Linked DNA regions of Homo sapiens: region 2 is linked to region 1. The links are contacts of gene promoters, found by promoter capture Hi-C in blood cells and fetal thymus (Javierre and others, 2016). All regions are on one chromosome and are shown on one strand. Each heading gives the region's core, a stretch centred on a gene start or on the middle of the fragment in contact. The rest is flanking DNA. Distances are from core to core; before and after follow the strand shown. Region 1 holds the start of GPX2 (glutathione peroxidase 2). Region 2 overlaps SPTB (spectrin beta, erythrocytic).

Region 1 (5,489 bases), core at 2,114-4,613:
ATCAAGGGAATGCTGAGGTCCAGCAGTGTCTCCTGAAGGCATGCTGCATCCTAAGGCTCCTCAGGACTGGATGGAGTAGGAGATCTGTGTGTTGAGCAGTTCACATCTATATGGCAACTTTAAGGAGGCGCTTGATGTCAGGCTCAATGTTGATGGTTGGGAAGGTGCGGCTGTAGCGTCGGAAGGGCTCTCCCTCCGGCCCTATGAGGAACTTCTCAAAGTTCCAGGCCACATCTGAGCGGCGCACAGGGCTCCAAATGATGAGCTTGGGATCGGTCATGAGGGAAAATGGGTCATCATAAGGGTAGGGGAGCTTGTCCTTCAGGTAGGCGAAGACAGGATGCTCGTTCTGCCCATTCACCTCACATTTTTGGACAAGGGTGAAGGTGGGCTGGTATCCACCCCCAGGACGGACATACTTGAGACTGTTCAGGATCTCCTCATTCTGACAGTTCTCCTAGGGGAGGAAAAAGACAAAGTGCGTGGACAGTGGGTGGGGGAAGAGAAAGATCCACAACATGAAACTCTTTCACCCTCCTACACTCCCTCCCCAGGGTCATTCTTTTTCACTGTGAAAGAGAGAGAGACAAGACAGACGAGGTGTTGCTCACTGCAGCCTTGAACTTCTGGGCTCAAGCATTCCTCCTGCTTCAGCCTCTTTAGTAGCTGAGACTACAGACACAGGCCACCATGCCCGGCTAATTTTTTTTTTTTTTTGTAGAGATGGGGTCTCACTTTGTTGCCCATGCTTTGGCTGCTCTTCAAGATTTAGCACTTCTGAGCTGTTGCTTTTGTCTCCAGTCTACCCTGAGCAGTTCTTAAGGTGTTTGAAGCAGAAGAAAGAGAAAAGAGGCTTAGGTTATACTGCTTAGAACCTCCTCTTCAACTAACCTACCGACCCACCTACCCATAAATCCATACCTACACACACACCCCTTTCCTTTCCTCTGCCCTGGTTTTGCCTCGCCTGCTTTCAATTGCACGTGTGTTGAGTATAGCCTTTGCCTCTGCCTACTCAGCTCCTTGAACTGAGGGTGAAATTGAGACCCAGAGGAATGGGATTTACAGCTTCTTGCTTTCTTCTTGCCTTGTCCTAGAACTGAAGTACAAATGGGAAGAAGCTTTGATGAAGGAAGACCCCCATCCAAGAACATCTAGTTTTCAGGTGCCATAACAGCAGAGCAAGTTCAAGGCAACAATGAATGTGTACTCTAAATGGAACTACTTAGTAACCAACAGGCATGAAGTAAATAGGATACAGGATTTAGGGTTTGGCAATAGGCCAGGGGGAGGGGGAGTTGAGGAAATAAGTGCTTGATGGCTAAAGATTGTGAGTATGTAATTATCATTCTTTTCTTGAGTAGGCTGCTACCCAAAGACTGCTGCACCTCCTATCCACTCACTGCTCTCAGCTACGCATGCTTTGGCTCAAAACCTGGTCCCTGCCTTTCCCTCCCCACTGCCATCCCTGTCCTATTCCCTCTCAGCATCACCATTCATGACAATCCAAAAGGCCTATGGGAACCCTTCTTTTCCACCTCTACCTTTCCAATTTAACAGACAGATACCTTCCTCTGGGAGAAAGTTCCTGCTTCTGACCTGTGAGAACTAACTAGTTCAGTCAGTTCCAGGCCATCATGACATCATGAGCCCAGAGCTGATCTCTAGTGGACTTCTCTGTTTTTGTTTCTGTTTTTTTTCCTGAGACAGGGCCTCACTCTGTCACCTAGGCTGGGGTGCGGTGGCACAATCATAGCTCACTGCAGCCTCGACTTCCCAGGCTCAGGCGATCCTGCTACTTCAGCGTCCCAAGTAGCTGTGACTACAGGCACATGCCACCATGCCTGGCTAATTTTTGCAATTTTTTGTAGAAACAAGGTTTCACCATGTTGCTCAGGCTAATCTTGAACTCCTGAGCTCAAGCAATCTGCCTACCTTAGCCTCCCAAAGCGCTGGGATTATAGGTGTGAGCCACTGTACCCTGGCAGATTTCTATTTCTTGATACAAATGGCTGGCTGGCTCCTGGTAGGTTATAGACTCCCTCCAGCAACTTGCTAGGCTGAAGAGATGGTGTGAGGCTGGAGGTACTTCTGGGGCTGGAGGGACATCTCGAAAGAGGGTTTGCTACTTCTGTCTCTCCTGCTCTAGAAAAGGCCAGACAGAAAACTTAGGGAAGAACAGTGAGAGCAGTGAACAGTTTGGGCTCAGGTTTGTCACAGCCAGTGATGCTTCAGCCTTCCTGCTTTCCTGTCTTCCTCACCTTCATACCACTGTGAATTGAACTAAGGGGATTATAACGAGAGGGTTCGCTTGGGTTCATTCTCCCTGCTTGTACGTTAAAATCATAGGTGGAAATAGAAGAATCCCTAAAAGAGAACTCGAGGTGTGTGGGCTGAAGATCTATAACAGCTTGACCCATTAATCAGAAATAGGTGCATGTAATGCCCAGAGGCACGTGCCTTTTGAAAACCTTTCTCTTTCCTGCTTATTTTCTTTCCACTTGGCTAATTTAAACCAACAAAAATCATCCTCAATCTAAATAACAGTTTGCTTGCATTTGCATAGTACTTTATATTTTTCAAGTTACTTTTGTATATCCTGTCCCCTAAACATCATAATAATCCTATGAGCTAAGTGGTATTATCCCCAATTTACAGATGAGGAAACTAAACCGAAAAATGAAGCGCCCTTTCCGAGGGCACAGAGCCATTAAATAGCAAAACCAAGTCCAGCTAGAGCTAAGGTCTCTTGAGTCTGTCCAATTCTTGTTTGATTCCTGGCCTCTACTTTCTCCACTCATTTATTCAACAAATATTTAATGAGTGCTTTCTGTGCCCTAGGCACTGAGGACACAGTGGAGAGAAACACAGACCTGGAACCAGCCCTCATGGAGTAATATAGTAGAAAGACAGTAAACTATAAAAATCACACAGCCTCAGTGTTTAATCTTAAAAAATATATACCTTCTCTTGGTATGTCACATGCACCTAAAGACCTAGCTTAACAAAACATACCCCATTATTCCAGACACTCCAAAACATGGTCATTCAGCCTCTCCTTTTATCCCACCTGAGCTACACCAACCCAACACTTTTGGTGCATTACAAGGAGGGACCCCTCACCTGATGTCCAAATTGGTTGCAAGGGAAGCCAAGGACCACCAGGCGCCTGGGAAAGCGGCATTGCAGCTCGTTGAGCTGGGTGAAGTCCCGGGTGGTTGTGCCTCAGAGCGAAGCCACATTCTCAATCAGCACGGCCCTGCCCCGGAACGTATTGAAATCTACCTTCTCCCCATCCAGGCTGATGGCACTGAGGTCATAGAAGGACTTGGCAATGAAAGCCATGGTGAAGCGCAGAGTGAGCCCCGCAGAGAGGCCTGAGCCCACTTATGAGCCTATTAGAGGGGTGGGGAGGAAGGAGGAGCCAGGAAGGAGGACAGAAAGGATCTAACAATGGAGCTTTGAGCATCCCCAGGATGACTTAGCAAAAACAGGTCCCCACCTGTAAGTGCTGTTTGAACAAGGAGGTTGCTCCTCCTATTAACAGACTGAACAAGGCCGCCTCCCCGCCCCACCCTGCTGCAACCTGGGAAGGGCCAATTTGATATCTATGAGCAGAGGTAAATAATTCACTGCTTACAGGAAACCAGAGCCCTAAAGGTCGAATGGAGAGGAAAAAAAGGGAGGGAGGGATGCAGGATTGACTCCTACTTGCCCCATCAAGTTGTTCTCATTTGACACAGACGTTTATTGAATGCCTGCTGAGTGTCAATCTCTGAATTGTACAGTGAGAGGGCAGGGTCTGCGGAGATCTGAAAGATGAAGAAGAGAATTGAGCCTCCTATCCATGGGACTCAGATGACAACTGAAATATACATATTCCTGTTCACGTTCTTCTCTTTGTTGCTTTCCACCAGGACAAAATCAAAGGGACCCTTAGGAGGAGAGTGTGTCATTTTCTAGGGGAAAAAAGAAGTTTTCAGTGCCTCAGCTCTTGCCAGGCTGAAGAGACAAAGTTGTGTTTATCTTGAAAAGTCTTTCAGTGCGTGGTGCCACTTGTCCTGGAGAACACACCAGCCTCTGCCCCTGCACTGTACCATCTCCTATATTATATCCCCCACCTCCACCTCATCCCCCAGCCCCCAAGTCATGAGGCTCAGTCGTTGCTGGGAGAATGGTGAAGAGGAGTCACAGAACAGGTGGATAAACTTAGTGGATGAACTGCACCTACCTTCCTCTCAGACAGAGATTTGGTCCCCAAGACTTTTCAGAGCGGGTTTGTGCTGGTCACCTTCCCACAGAAGGAAGTGTGTGGAGGAAGTTGAAGCTGCTGTGGTTCCAGACGCAGGCAGGTCACCCCTGATGCTTTCAACAAGAGGCGTGCAGTGCATCGCAGGACATCTGCTAAGGGCCATCTCAGAGGCCCACCCCTGGAAGCCACAGAAACCGAAAAGACCCAAGCACCCGCCAACTCAACAAGTTACTCTTTTAAAAATGCCTTGATTTCTTCATCAGTAAAACTAGCAATGGGGCTTGACCTAGCTTTGGGATTTTAGAGTGAAATTTCAATAACAAAGCAAATGTTTACTAGGGTGTTTTCACAGGGGCACATCCATTGGGAACTGTCTCCTTGGAACAAAGAATAAGCAAGTCCGGGGAGCAGCTGGTCTTGAGAATCTGATTTGTTGAGATGAGATGAAGTAATTATCACCAGGGAGCGCCAAGCTGCCTTGCAGCTTTTCCATGGCTGTTCAAGTATACAGGGACCATGTGTCTCAGCTGGCTGCTCCCTAAAAACAAGTTTCCATTACCTAAGTGGACAGAAGGAGTGACAGGAAGTGTAGAGGGAAGTGTGTCCCCTGCTGAAGCTGGGTGGAGTTCCTAGAAGCAACCAATAAGAAAGAGTCCCCACCAAGCCACTGAGTCACAAGGACTTGGCACTGATAGTGGGCAGAACTGTAACTTGCCGGATTTATGTGCATACCTAGAGCTTCCCCCTAGTACTCTCTGGGCCTCCAGAGACACCTCTTATTCTCTGCTCTTTTGCAAGCCTTCTTCAAGAAGGCCATGGGAGTTCCCAAGATGAGGAGTGTGGGGGTTCCCTCTTCCTTAGGTACATGCCATCCCTTTTCTCCTGGTGTGACCTTGGACCCTTCAGACTCCCAGGGTTCTCACCTTTCCTAATGGAATATACTTGGTGAGGCTCTCCTAAAATATCTCTGTCTCCAAATTTACCTCAAACTGGCCTCGCTTTCCAAAAGCTTACAACTTTAAGCATACACTAAGCAGCGTATGATTCTTATGGCTTTCTGTGGGACAGTGCTTGCTCTGGACACAGCACTGGCTTAGGCAGAAAGCCTGGGTTGGTGGTTCTTAATTCTGACTGCAAATGAGAATTGTTTGTAGGAATTTTTCTAGAGATGCCAAAGCTTTGCCCTCCAGTGATTCCAATTCAGTGGTTTACAACCACAATTCTGCCACTGTTACTT
Region 2 (2,625 bases), core at 126-2,625, 140 kb before region 1:
ATCAAGTTCAACTACAGGCAGCAAGTGACAACCAACAGAGCAAGAATGGAAGAGTGTGATGAAATCCATTTTAGAACCACACATTACAAAAGAAGAAAAGAAGAAGGATCCAAAGTCCATCTCCAAACAGACCAGGCAGGCATGGGAACCAGCATGGAGCAGAGAAGCAGGCCCAGATCAGAGCCTGGCCTGGCCACTGCCCCTCACTGTGCCCACAGCTTGCCCAGCACCTGGGCCGGCCTCCAGAAGTCCTGGCGGCTGAGCTCCTCTAGCACAGCGAGTGCATCCCCCACTGCTGCAGCAAAGGCTGGCAGGGGTGGGTGTGGCTCACCTTCGGGGTCGAGGAGCGGGATGATGCCCAGCTGGCGCTCAGCCACATTGAATGCGTGCTCCAGGTTGTGCCGGGCATTGGAGTCCTTCAGCTTATCAAAGTCGATCAGGTCGGGCCTGGGGACAAAACTGGACTGTGAAAAGGGAGTAGCCACAGCATCCCCACCAGGAGGGCAGCCCTAGCATGAAGCAGACATTGTACAGAGGCAGGGAGGTGGTCAGGCAGGAGGAGTGAAAGGAGGAGATGGGAGCAGAGGAGAGGGGGCAGGTGTGAGCCTTGGCATATGAGGGAAGTGGGCGGCAGGCATGCTGGGATTTAAGGAAAGTGAAGGTGCTATGGGCTGCTGAAGGGGAGAGGAGAAGGAACAGCAGAGGTCACATTTCTGTGACTCCATGTTAAGTGCAATGTGTCCAAATATTCCCAGGGAGGCTGTCTCAGTCAGTCCCCACGGCTGTCCCCTCCCTCTTACCGGTGCTTGTGTATCAGGGCATTAAAGGCCAAGCCATCCTTCCAGCTGGAGGTAAAGTTGGTGACATTAACATGAGGGTAGCTGCATCCAAGAGAAACAGTAAGAGCTAAGAATTAGATTTTTTGTAGTCCCAAACAAGTGTACAAATTGAGGGCCAATATACCAGGAGAGAAATGGAACTGTCCTTTCTTGAGCCAGGTCACCAAGAGGGGGCAGCAGCTAACCACACACAGAGGCTCCCCCATCAGATGTGAACACCACACAGACCCCCCAGTCTGCCTGCAGGCAACTTTGGAAAAGAATCCTGTATTCCAGGCCTCAAAGAATCAGGTCAGGACAGACTTTGCATCAATTACAGGGAGGCAGCTGTAGTTCTGGGTGATGATGTCTAATGTCCCTCTGGAGATGGCAGTGCTTGTGCGGAGCAAGGGGCTGGTGGTGGATGTGCTAACAGCTGGTTCCCAGGGCATACCCTGCCGTCTTCATCTGACACCACAACAGCAACGCATCCTTGGCTGAGCGTGTTTCACGACCTTCCTGAGTTTGGACCACAATGTCCTGAATCTGAGGGTAGCAGAACAAGAGAGATTTGAAGAGGATGTGCATCTGGATCTGTGCTTTCCTGCCGTCCCTGGGAGGCTCCCTCCCTCATCCCCCCTTCACTTAACACTAATTCATCCTTTAAGAGCCAGTATAAATGGCGCTTGGGTTGGGTCTCCCTTCATGTGCCCTGCTCCCTGCATTTACATTTCCTTCTCTCTCCTAGATGCTCCCTGAGCCCAGGGAAATCTGTCTTGGTCACTTGTCTGTCTCCAGGGCCTGGAGCCTGGTGCACCATCAGTACTCCATAGCTGTATTGTGGCTGTCTGTACAAACATTGATTCTGTTCCTATTATGTGGCAGCGCTGTGCTAGGCCTGAGGACACACAGAGGTAAAACAAATTTCTTGCCCTCAAGGAGTAGCCGCCAGCCCCGCAGCAACACCACATCCTGAGGCCCTGTGCCCCAGCAGCCTGCTTCCCTGCCTCAGTCAGCCAAAATGGCACAGGGATGAGACAGCTGTAATTGGATAACTCTAATAGAATGCAGAGAATCAGTGACAAGATGCCCTGATTCCTCCTCTGGAGGTGCAATGCCCCTTGAGGCTGTGGAACAACATGAATGCTGATGAGTACTATACTTTCATTAGCAGCTCCTCTTGCCTTTCCATTCTCCCCAACTCTGCTGCTATTGTTGTTCAATGTTATGCACCCATGGAGAGTGAGATCGGACATGCGGGGCCACTTGGTTGAGGTCTTTAGTCCGCGAGTTGTATGCTCTCTTCTTTCTCCTGCCCTCACCTCCTTGGGCAAGGTTCTTTCTGTCCCCAAACCAGCAGGTGCAAGACCCTGTTTTCCTCCCCTTCCCCTTTCTAAATTTCCTTACAAATAATCTGGACTTTGAATTTCAGGGTGAGAAGAGAAAAGTTTCTGATTGGAAAATATACACACAGATCTTCTACACAATTTTTGCAATTTTCTGTATCTATTTCAAAAACCAAGAAGTTACATGTATAGGGGGAGGAGGCTAAAAAGCTAATCTTCCAGCCAGATATCAACCCAGCTACCAATTAATTTCTATCTTCTCCCTGAAAAGACCATACTACTGAGTGAGCAGCTCCCCCTGAGCTTCAGTGACTTGGGGTGATACAGAAGATGGTTACTCCTTCCTACAAGCACTGTCCCATGTGGCAGATTTACAGCCTTCCCAGAATGTGCACTAACACCCACACTCTGTTCAGCATTTTATAAGATTCTAAGGCCCTGGGCAGCCTTGAGGGCTCCCT

The links. Contacts are between HindIII fragments. The CHiCAGO score rates a contact against its expected background, and 5 or more counts as called.
Region 2: a contact is called between a fragment that was not itself captured here and the fragment with the promoter of GPX2 in region 1, in 1 of 17 cell types (megakaryocytes). The highest score is 8.4, in megakaryocytes.

Annotation. Positions count from the first base shown.
Region 1 is chr14:64,939,382-64,944,870 of GRCh38, forward strand. It overlaps GPX2 (glutathione peroxidase 2), which reads right to left and starts at 3,364. Exons shown (of 2, transcript NM_002083.4): 1 at 3,124-3,364; 2 at 1-457. The coding sequence starts at 3,345. The coding sequence ends at 107. All of the region lies in intron 3 of CHURC1-FNTB (CHURC1-FNTB readthrough), which reads left to right. The HindIII fragment of the contact is 4,140 bases long and covers 1,120-5,259 here.
Region 2 is chr14:64,800,954-64,803,578 of GRCh38, forward strand. SPTB (spectrin beta, erythrocytic) reads right to left here. Exons shown (of 36, transcript NM_001355436.2): 5 at 1,273-1,364; 6 at 801-881; 7 at 332-447. Among named protein-coding and RNA genes, the nearest start is that of MIR7855, 17 kb to the left of the region's middle. The HindIII fragment of the contact is 4,238 bases long and covers 1-2,625 here.